4 separate regions of the Homo sapiens genome follow, and all the other regions are linked to region 3. Evidence: promoter capture Hi-C in 16 types of primary human blood cells and fetal thymus (Javierre and others, 2016). All regions are on one chromosome and are shown on one strand. Each heading gives the region's core, a stretch centred on a gene start or on the middle of the fragment in contact. The rest is flanking DNA. Distances are from core to core; before and after follow the strand shown. Region 1 has its middle 92 kb from the start of EGFL6. Region 2 has its middle 50 kb from the start of EGFL6. Region 3 holds the start of TLR8 (toll like receptor 8). Region 4 has its middle 120 kb from the start of LINC01203.

What was found. Contacts are between HindIII fragments. The CHiCAGO score rates a contact against its expected background, and 5 or more counts as called.
Region 1: a contact is called between a fragment that was not itself captured here and the fragment with the promoter of TLR8 in region 3, in 9 of 17 cell types (activated CD4 T cells, non-activated CD4 T cells, total CD4 T cells and 6 more). The highest score is 12.1, in activated CD4 T cells.
Region 2: a fragment that was not itself captured here is called in contact with the fragment with the promoter of TLR8 in region 3 in 4 of 17 cell types (naive CD4 T cells, activated CD4 T cells, total CD4 T cells and 1 more); the score reaches 8.1 in naive CD4 T cells.
Region 4: a fragment that was not itself captured here is called in contact with the fragment with the promoter of TLR8 in region 3 in 7 of 17 cell types (non-activated CD4 T cells, total CD8 T cells, naive CD4 T cells and 4 more); the score reaches 8.7 in non-activated CD4 T cells.

The regions. Positions count from the first base shown.
Region 1 is chrX:13,476,096-13,478,820 of GRCh38, forward strand. No RefSeq gene overlaps it. Among named protein-coding and RNA genes, the nearest start is that of EGFL6, 92 kb to the right of the region's middle. The HindIII fragment of the contact is 2,216 bases long and covers 337-2,552 here.
Region 2 is chrX:13,518,018-13,520,782 of GRCh38, forward strand. No RefSeq gene overlaps it. Among named protein-coding and RNA genes, the nearest start is that of EGFL6, 50 kb to the right of the region's middle. The HindIII fragment of the contact is 9,708 bases long and covers 1-2,765 here.
Region 3 is chrX:12,905,332-12,908,186 of GRCh38, forward strand. TLR8 (toll like receptor 8) reads left to right here and starts at 1,289. Exons shown (of 2, transcript NM_138636.5): 1 at 1,289-1,378. The coding sequence starts at 1,376. It overlaps TLR8-AS1 (TLR8 antisense RNA 1), which reads right to left. Exons shown (of 5, transcript NR_030727.1): 4 at 859-920. The HindIII fragment of the contact is 3,594 bases long and covers 1-1,404 here.
Region 4 is chrX:13,449,638-13,452,363 of GRCh38, forward strand. No RefSeq gene overlaps it. Among named protein-coding and RNA genes, the nearest start is that of LINC01203, 120 kb to the left of the region's middle. The HindIII fragment of the contact is 3,047 bases long and covers 1-2,726 here.

The DNA of each region.
Region 1 (2,725 bases), core at 195-2,694, 570 kb after region 3:
ACAATCTTATTTTTACAAGGGGCAATAAATATGTATGGCTGGTTTTATTGACTTTCACTCAGAATGGAGCATGTATGCTTTGGAATTCCATTCTGTAAAGTTTCATTGGTAGTTGATAAGTCAGATCTGAAACCAGAAATTCACGCACACTCTCCTCTTCTTTTAAAAAGAACATTGAATATGCCAGTGTCCAGGGTTTTCTCTTTCGTTGTCATCCTCTCCAACCCTTTCTTCTTCTTCCTTCTAATGATATCAATCCCAAACAAATACCTTGCATTTGCTGCCTTGTACTCTTGCAACAAATACTTTGCCTGTGTTGCAGAATCCTTTTAGGAAAGCTTGCAAGCGGACAGCAGAGATCAGAACGGGACACTGGGGAAATCACCTGAACTGACACCTCACTCAGGGTGCCGGACAGCTTTAGGGAGATTAATCTCCGTGAAGCTGTCCAGCAAGACAAGAATGATGACTGACCATTTACATACTGGGCAGCCTTCCCATCTGGGTCATCAGCCTGGATTTATTCCCAGTTGTCAGGAACCCCAGAGGAGGTGACCTCCATTCAATTTGTCATGGACAACTGTTCTGATCACCCAGACAGCCTTCTCAATTTCCCTTTGGCTGGGGGCATGAGAATGATCAAAGACCAAATAGGTGCATGTAGAGTGGCCTCCATTCTATCCCTAATGGGATAATCCTGATGATTAGAGTCAGGCCTCCAAGAGATCATGGGCCATCTTTGATAGATTCACCACTGATGCCTGGACATCCAGAACTTTCAGAGATGATAAATCAGCTCTGAAGGAACAAAGGCTGGCACTATGAAACAAAAATGGGTGAAACATCAGTGCGACACTAGCAATGGTGCAGCGTAACAGAGTCAGGAAACACACCCAGTTCTTAAAATTCTGATGTCAAATCTGCTGCTAGCAAGAGCGTTCTGATAAAGCAGTTAACAGTTCTGTGCATGGATTTCTCACCAACTCTATAATCACACCACCTATTTATCCCAAAGGAGCAATGTCAGGTTAACCCCACAAACAAATCTTTTTTTTTTTTGTTTGTTTGAGACAGAGTCTCACTCTGTCGCCCAGGCTAGAGTGCAGTGGTGTGATATTGGCTCACTTCAACCTCTGCCTCCCGGGTTCAGGTGATTCTCGTGCCTCAGCCTCCCTGGTAGCTGGGATTACAGGCGTGCGCCACCACACCTGACTAATTTTTGTATTTTTAGTAGAGATGGAATTTCACCATGTTGGCCAGGCTGGTCTCAAACTCCTGGTCTCGAGTGATCTGCCCACCTTGGCCTTCCAAAGTGCTGGGATTACAGGTGTAAGCCACTGTGCCCAGCCAGACAAATCTTATTTTAACACTACTTATTTATGCTTGTAAAGACTTTGCAATATCTGTACCAGGCAAATCTAAGGCTGTTTGCTCAACTATGAAAGTGTATTTTCCCTTACATGGTCTCCTAGACCTTAAACAACCTTATTACATTACCCATATTCACCAGGTACTTTACTTTTAAAATAATTCTCATTTAGTTTTCTCATCAAACTTAAGTGGAAGAACTTTTTATTACCAGTTAACAGAAAAGTTACGAAGGTTTACAAAGACCCAGCCAGTGAGTGGTAGAGCTGAAATCCAGCCCTAATTGGGCCTAACCCCAAAGCCTCCAAGACAATAAGACCACCTCTGCCAATTTTGATAAGGGGTAGTCTAGTTTCCGCTCTTCCATGGATGAAGTCCATAAATCCAAGAAAGCCTACCACCCAGAAAAAGAGATCATTTATCCCCACCATCCAGAATAAAGGCAGGACACTGAGGCCAGGCACTGGCACCCATGCACAGATATGGCATGAGCTGTCTGTGGAAAATCTTCCCCATCATTACCAACCCTACATCATGGGCTTGGAAATTGCTGAATGTCTCTTTAGGCAAGAGCTGACTTAATACTTTGGTTTCTTAAAGGCTGTCTAGGAGAAATCAGAGCACTACACAGAGCCTCCATCTACTGCCCCGGAGCTAAATCCCCTTGGAATATGTCTTAGCAGGTTTGCTTTCAACCCCTCAAATTCTTTCGCCTGAAGTCTTCTAGATGCAAGAAACAGATGCTCCTTCAGCCTCCTGAAATAAGAGAGGTTTAATACTGGAGTGCACCTGGAGCAGTGAAGGGAGATGGAGGGTCCTAGATGCCAAGATACTTCTCTGACCATCTCAGAGCCTGCAGGTGGAGGAGAATTCTAGAACCTCAGGCTGCTCTCCCAGTCCCCAGATCTTCATCCAAGTTCTCCACCATTAACACAACCCAGCTGGTCTCCACAGATAACCTCATCTGTTTTTCTGTGCCTGCAACTTGTGCATCCTTTCTGTATTACCAGTTCAAAATCCTGAAGGGTGAAATCTACCTGGCCCAGTTAATCTGTTCCCAGCAGGTCCCACCTTAAGGCTCTGGCTGGTCTCTGGGTTGACTGATTCCTGAGCCCATCTACTTGATGCGGCTTCCCAGATTAAGAATGGATGTTGAAAAGGAGTAATTTCCATGAGAAGAGCCAAGCTTTTCCGCATCCATGCCACGCACCAACCTCTCCCCAAGTTTTTCCTGATATGCGATTCTCACTATCGCTTCATTCCAGTCTCTTCTGATGTCAGCTCTTTACAAAGACCTTCCTTCCCTTCAGTGTCTCCACTCCCTGACCCTGCTTTCTGTGCCTCCGGGCGCTTGCAA
Region 2 (2,765 bases), core at 90-2,589, 610 kb after region 3:
ACTTCAGAAAAGTTATTGGTCTATTTTCAGTGTCATTTACCTTATTATGGCATTATCTTTAGCTTCATCTGGGGGTAGAAAATGGTGACTCATTGTTACCATAACTGAATTTGAAATTCTTATTTAATATTGCAGAACTAATAATAGACTGTGTGATAGTGAATCACAATTGTTAAACCAGTCCAATTCCTTCCCCATCTCTGCATCAGCTCCTGTTCTGTTGGGGCAGCCAGCAAACTTTGCTTTGTAAGTTCTTTGTTCTCTGTCTCTCAGCTATGACCAGAAACACCTTTAACCGTGTGATGGCATGCTATTTTAGGTCATTAACCTCTGCTACTTTTTCTACTCTTTCGGCCCGCCCCACCCTTACTCCTGTCTGTGAAGTCAGCCGTGGTTGCCTCAGGAAGGGGATGATACAGGCAACTAGGCAGTCAAAGTTTTGAGTTCCAAAAGCCCAGGCTGGGCGTGATACAAAGACCTGGAAGAAAACATCGTCAAGCAGGTACAGTTGTGCCATGCTCAAGCCTAGAGAAGATTCTCTGGGATGTGTGGGAGAAAGAGAGATAAAAGGTAAATGAAAATCCTTCAGATGTCAGTGGGTCCCTGAGCAGGCCTGTGCCCTTGACAAGGCCAAGTCAGGGCAGAGAGGAGGAAATAATGGAAGACCAGCCTAGCTTTGAGGATCTGAATGCAAGGGGAACTTATGCTCTGTCCATGGCTAAAGCTCAAGTGGGCAGAAAGACCCTAGGGTTCCCTGTACCCAGCGTACTGTGGGAGCAAAAGGCACATCCGTTTTGCTGTGTCTGCAGGAAGTTTAAGAGAATCTCCAAGAGTCTCTCAGACCCCTGAGATGGCCAAGAGCAGCAGATGTTTCCCTGGTACCAGAAAGTGGTAGTCACTAGCACTGCAGGTAATGTGAAGCTGTTTCCAGAAGCTCTTTAGAAGCAATAGAATCTGCCATTAAGATTGAAGATCACAAATACATACAGAATGAACGTAAAAACCATGGCTGAGAATTGAATACTCAGTGGTCCCCAGAGACAAGTGGCTGTATCTCAAAACAACTTAGATAAAAACAAAGATGGTGGAAGCCTGGAAGATGCCTGTAGATGGCTCCAGAAGTGCTTCCCAGAATAGTGAAGACATCATTGTTGGAAGTTGAATGTGGAGAATCTGAATAAAATATCTTTCATAAAATGTGAGCAGGGGAAAAGTAATGTTATATATTGCATGTTACTTAATAAGGGGTTCCCAACAGGAGGCAATTTCGCCCCACAGAGGACATTTGGCAATGTCTGGAGACATTTTTTGTTGTCAGAACTTTGGCAAGGGTGGGAAAGTGCTACTGGAATCTAGTGGGTAAAGGCCAGGGTGTTGCTAAATGAGCTTCTGCTCTAGTTTGTGTTCCTACACCCAATAACACTAAGCCTTGACAATGACCAGTTCACAGGGCCGTGCTGTCACTCGTGATTGGATGTACCTCGTGATGGATGTTGGAAAGTTTCTCAAAGCATGTCCTCAGGATCCCTAGTTGCATAAAACATCTCTAAAGAATGGCTTGCATGGTCTTAAGATTTGGGAAAATGCTATATTCCAAATTCTCCCTTGTAACTTGGCAATGGACAGTAGTATGTTCAAGTCTCTGAGAAGTCCTGCAAAATGTTGGACTTGGATTAATCTAAAACTTTCCAAATTTGTTTGATCACAGAGCCTTTAAAATTTTTTTCTGAAGGACAGAGGGCAAGGACACTTCTAGTGTTGTCATGTTTGACTGTTTACATGTTTAAATACATTTTATTCTGAATTACTTTCATTTTATTCCCTTTTGTATTACTATTAGAGCATCATACCAATTTTGGGGCAAAAGTACGTAAAGGTGGGTTGTATTGTCTGTGAATTTCATGTAAAACTAGGAAAACAGGCACTGTAAACTATTTGTTATAAAAAGAGTGTATGGATATTTGTCGTAAGAAAACGGTATAGGAAAACCTCTGTGTGTGTCTCGGCATAAAGGTAAAATGATCACCTAAGCTACGCTCTCCATCAGAGATGAGTAGAGGAGGGATGTGAAATCCTGCTGAGATCACAGTATTGCATTACAGAGCTAAAAGCCACCCTGGGCTCCTCTAGTCCCACCTTTCGCTGTACAGACAAAGAAATTGAGATTCAGCAAGGTTCCATGACTTACCCAAGGGCCTCAAAGTTACCACAGAACACAAAGGGCCTTCTGGCATGGCCTGGTCATACTGCATTTCTTGAGTGGGTGAACAGAAAGTTCCAGAAGCAAATATTGTACCATTGTTTTCATAGAATTTACTGTCTTGGTTCGTGTTCACAAATCCCTGAAGAGCAATAGAGGGATGATATGTTAAACATGTTTCCCTGCAAACTCTCCATTCCCTCGAACTGTATTTACTCTACCCTAAAGCAGAAAGTTTAATTGTCCCCCTGGATGTGCTGTGTGATGATATTTTGGAAAGAGAATTGACCAAGGAGCCAGAAAATATCTTACAAAAAAAATCACTCTTACTCTTAAGAATAACACCTTCTACATTTCCTTAACCATAAAAAGTATTACTCACTTCATTGTCCAGACTTCGCTTAAATGAAATGTGACTCTTTCAAACAATCACATCAACCCTGAAAGGATCAAGGTTTGTCATGACTAAGTATTTTCTAAAGTGAAAAGTTAAGAGGGTCAGAGGCCTGGCTTTTGCCCTGGCTAGTTATGTGTACTTGAGATTGTCACTTCTCTTTTCTGTTTT
Region 3 (2,855 bases), core at 39-2,538:
ATGTCACAGGAATCACCTCTCAAACCATGCACCAGGTCTTGAATTCCCTTAGGGTGTGATCTTTAGAGGTCCATCTAGGTATACCCACCCAAGCCATTCTTTGACTGCTGACAGGCCTTCCTTCATAACAAGGTGTTCCACAGTCCATTTATATATGGATGTCATCTCTGCCCACCCTGCTGCCAATTTGGTTTTCTCCCACTCCTGGGGTGTAAGGCAAGATGAAACATATCACATCCCGTTCTAAACTTTATTCTTGTGGCCAGGGGTCAGCAAACTTTTTCTGTAAAGGGCCAGATGGCAAATATCTTAGGTTTTACAGGCCAAGAAGCAAATTTGGCATATTATGTAGCTACTTATATAGTAAAATAAAAATTTCCACAATTATGTAATTGATGAAACTCAAAATGTAATAATAATAATCGAAGGCAGTTTTTTTGTAGTATAGGTTTAATAATGAGAAGAATGGAATCATTTTTGGAGGTGCTAACATTCTGCTTGGTTGGAATTTAAAGTTAGTGTTCTGTATCAGCAAATCCATTGCCAATGTTCATCTAAAAATGTTTTCACTTCTGGGCCGGATTTCGTTCAAAGGCTGCAGTTTGCTGACCTCTGCTCTTGGTTACACCTTTTGAGGCCCTTGCTCTCCGAGCATAAAATGGAATCCATTTATCAGACTAAATCGGGAAGATTAAATTTTCCAGCCTCACGAATGCTCAGCCATTGACTCACTCGTTCATACAATGAACACTCATTGAGCTTATACTACATGCCAGGTGCTGGAGGAGGCATGGGGCGCCCAGGAGAAAGATGCTCGCTTTGCGGCCACAGCCCAGTGGGAGGGAGACCCATACCTACCGGTGCTGTCTCAGAAACTTGTGGAACAAAGATGAAGCAATGTTCATGTTATTCGCCTACATCTGTGAATTACACAAGGAAGACGAGTTTGAGAAATCCGAAGTTCAGTACAAATTTATGGTAACTTTTTTAAAAAAGAATACACTGAAGTTTTCTTAGTGAATGGAATAATGTTCCCTTTTTCTCCCCTGTACACACAAATACACAAAAACTAACAAAAATACGTCGTGTGTGTCTGATTTGGGTTGTATTTAAATCATTTCATAAATGACTTTTTCCCATAACTTCAGTTTCAAAGTTTTAAAGCACAGTCAATTAATGATTTGGCAACAGCTAAGAAATCACAAGTTCCCTTCTTTTCATGTAAACTTCTGTAAAACACACGCTACGTTCTGCTGATGGTAAATAGAGCCATTTCAGGAAGTTAGCCAGTTTCTCTTCTCGGCCACCTCCTGCATAGAGGGTACCATTCTGCGCTGCTGCAAGTTACGGAATGAAAAATTAGAACAACAGAAACATGGTAAGCCACTTCTATTTCTTTAGCAAAGCTTTCCAACAGAATATGGGGTTTCTGACCCAGAAATCTGGGTTGGTGGCAAATGGTGTGAGCCTAGAAAGTAATAAATGGGCAAATAAGGATAAAAATTAAAGATCGAAACAACTGTAAATGCAGGTAAAGCGGCTTGCTATGATCTTTAATTTGTGCACACGTTAGTATAAAGGAATTAGAGAGTAAATTTTGAAAATCAAATGCAGTGATGATCTTACTAATTTGGACAGGAAAATAAGAAAATTTCAAGTTAGAAATTGAACTGGAAATATTACTTACTGGCCCTACCAGAGACAATATCCTCTTCCAGAACAACAGGGTTGGAAGAGAAGGTGAGGGAAATATTCTTCCTTTGCTATTTCTGTAGAAAAGGACAAACTCTCTTCCTTCACATACATAGGTCAATTGCTAGATCCTAGTGAAGCCTGAGCTTAACCTACTGTTGGAGGCTTAAAGTTCGACATTAATTGCTACTTTTCTTGGTCAGAGTTTTAAATAATTAGGTTGGTACAAAAAACTGTGATTACTTTTCCACCAACCTAATAACATGCTACAATTTCTGTAATTATTATTTTACACTGTCAAGACATAGCAGGTGGTCCGTTTTTGTTATTGTCAAGAACTGTCAGACTAAAAATGAACTTTACACTTCTTTTTAAATGATACATTTTCTAGAAAATTCAATGAGGTTTAAGAGCAATTGAAAAGTCTGATTTCAAGAGAGTCTCATCCAAAATGTACTATATATTTTTCCCCAAAGTCCTTGGAGTTAATTTTGACAACAATTTAAAGTACACTTAAGTCTTTTGAAGTTAATGGGTCTGCCACCCAGGTTGGAGTGCAGTGGCGTGATCTCAGCTCACTGCAACCTCCGCCTCCCGGGTTCAAGCGATTCTCCTGCCTCAACCTCCCAAGTAGCTGGGACTACAGGTGTGTGCCACCACGCCTGGCTAATTTTTGTATTTTTAGTAGAGACGGGGTTTCTCCATGTTGGCCAGGCTGGTCTCGAACTCCTGACCTCAGGTGATCCGCCTGTCTCAGCCTCCCAAAGTGCTGGGATTACAGGCATGAGCCACCGCGCCCGGCCTGAAGTTAATTTTTATACCCACCTAATGTTCATTATGGATCTTGAAGGTAAATTAATTCTGCACTAAAATTTTACAATGCTTTACAAAATGACTGTAGGTGGCCCATATGGAATTCGGTCAACTGGGCCAATGACACATATGGGATTGCAGTTGAAATTATCCAATTCCTACTTGATATTTGTAAGCTGCTGTGATAGCCAGTATAATTGTACTGTAAGAATGTGGTAAATAGCCGGGGCCCGGTGGCTCACGCCTATAATCCCAGCACTTTGGGAAGCCGACGTGGGCGGATCACTTGAGGTCAGTAGGTAGAGACCAGCCCGGTCAACACGGCAAAACCTCGTCTCTACTAAAAATAC
Region 4 (2,726 bases), core at 127-2,626, 540 kb after region 3:
ACCCAGGGTTCCTGGTTCAGTAGGTGTGGGGCAGGGCCTGAGAATTTGCAGTTCTAACAAGTTCCCAGATATAGTGATGCAATGACAACCAAAGTGATTTTCCTACTCTCTACTCTCACACAGCTACTCAACACTTCTATAACCCCATGTGTAAAGGGTTTTTTTTCCTACACACCAAGCAATTCTGCAGATAATTCTCCTTAATTGAATTAAAGGACACAAGCTGGGTGACCTTTATTTAATTCAATTCAATTCCAACACTATCTACCTGGAGACAGCGTCAGATCCCACAGGTTGAGGGCTCAGTTCCACAAGACTGCCCCCACTTAAGACGCCATTCGCAAGTTTAGGTTATAGCCTGTGCTTCTGACTGACCAGGGTCCCCATAACCCCCTCCTTGGGTTCAATTAATTTGCTATAGTGGCTCACAGAGCCCAGGGAAACACTTTTACTTACATTTACCCATTTATTATAAAGAATGTTACAACGGATCCAGATGAACAGCCATATGGAAGAGAAGCATAAGGCGAGGTATGGGGAAGGGGCGTGGAGCTTCCATGCCCTCTGCGGGTGCACCACCCTCTACGAACCCCCATGTGTTCAGCAATCCAGGCCACCTGAACCCTGTCCTCTTGGGTACTTATGAAGGTCTCATTACATAGGCATAATTGTTTACATCATTGGCCATTGGTGATCAACGTAAAGTTCAGTCCGTTTCCTCTCCCCAGAGGCCAGGGGGGTGGCCCTGAAAGTTCCTTCCCTCTAATCACATGATTGGTTCCCCTGGCAACCAGCCCTCAACCTGAGGCAGTACAGGAGGCCACCAAGAGTCTCCTCATTAGAGCAAAGGATGCTCCCATCACCCAGGAAATTCCAAGGGATTTAGGAGCTCTGTGTCAGGAACCTGCGTCAAAGATCAAATATTGGAACAAAAGATCCTCCCAGCACTCCAATTGTTCAGACAATTACAAGGGTTTAGAAGCTCTGTGTCAAGGACTGGGGGCAGAGACCAATATGTGTATTTCGTGTTATTTCACGGCAGGTGATACTGATGCTGCTGGGCCAGGAACCACACTTTGAGAACCATTTAGTTGGTTCTTTTTAATATAAATATAATTTCAACTTTTATTTTAGATTCAGGGATTACATGGGCAGGTTTGTTACATGGTGATATAGTTTGGCTCTGTGTCCCCAGCCAAATATCATGTCAAATTGGAACTTTCAATGTTGGAGGAGGAGCCTGGTGGGAGGTGATTGGATCATGGGGGTGGATTTTCCCCTTGCTGTTCTCGTGATAGTGAGTGAGTCCTCACGAGATCTGGTTGTTTAAATATGTGTAGCACTTACCCCTTTGCTCTCTTACTCCTGCTCCAGACATGTAGAACGTGCCTGCTTCCCCTTCTGCCATGACTGTAAGTTTCCTGAGGTCTCCCGAGCCATGCTTCCTGTACAGCCTGTGGAACTGTGAGTCAATTAAACCTCTTTTTGTATAAATTACCTAGACTCAGGCAGTTCTTTATAGTAATGCGAGAACGGACTAATACACATGAGTATATTGAATGATGCTGAGGTTTAGGGTACAAACGATCCTGTCACCAAGGTAGTGAGCCTAGTACCCAGTAGTCTTTCAGCCCTTACCCTCTTCCCTCTCTCCCGCTCTTGCAGTCCCCAGTGTCTGTTGTTTTCATCTTTATGTCCATGAGTACCCAATGTTTAGCTCCCAATTCTAAGTGAGATCATGCAGTATTTGGTTTTCTGTTCTTGTATTAATTCACTTAGGATAATGGCCTCCAGCTGCATCCATGTTGCTGCAAAGGATATGATCTCATTCTTTTTTAATGGCTGCCTAGTGTTCCATGGTGTGTATGTACCACGTTTTCTTTTTCCAATCCACCATTGATGAGCACCTGGGTTGATTCTATGTCTCTGCCATTATGAATAGTGCTGGAGAGCTACTGAGTTTAAGTATTTGGCATTCTGTAAAAGTGGGCTTTCTGATGAGCTCTGAGTGACTAAGGAGAGGAGTGTGAAGGGGTATGTGGTGGGTCCAATGAAGACCAGTTCTGTCCTTCTGTTGAGTGGGATACTTTTTCATAAATTTTTGTGCAAGTGAGTGAGAGCAAAAAAGAAAGGCCGAGACGTTACTTTGCAATTTGAATCAGTGCCTGTAGGCACTAGACTGAAAGTCAGAATATGAGAAACAGAAGACAAGTTATTATCTTCTTCTCAGGGAAGCTGTAATTAATGGTGACTTGACTTTATCCAGAAGCTCAGGCTGGCTTGAACAGCTGTTTTACATATAAAAACGGCTTGCAATGCAGGAGAAGTTAGGGCAATGAGAAATCAAAGTCATAATGCAAGAGGAAAGTAAGAGTTCACATAGGTAAAGATTGACGGCCAGGTGTGGTGGCTCATGCCTGTAATCCCAGCACTTTGGGAGGCCAAGGTGGGCGGATCACTTGAGGCCAGGAGTTCGGAACCAGCCTGGCCGACATAGCAAACCCAGTCTCTACTAAAAAGTACAAAAATTAGCTGGGCATGGTGGCACATGCCTGTAGTCCCAGCTACTCAGGAGGCTGAGGGAGGACAATCACTTGAACCTGGGAGGCGGAGGTTGCAATGAACCGAGATCACACCACTGCACTCCAGCCTGGGCGACAGAGCGAAACTCCATCTCAAAAAAAAAAAAAAAAGAAGAGAGATTGACAACAGATGAGTCCTGGTGA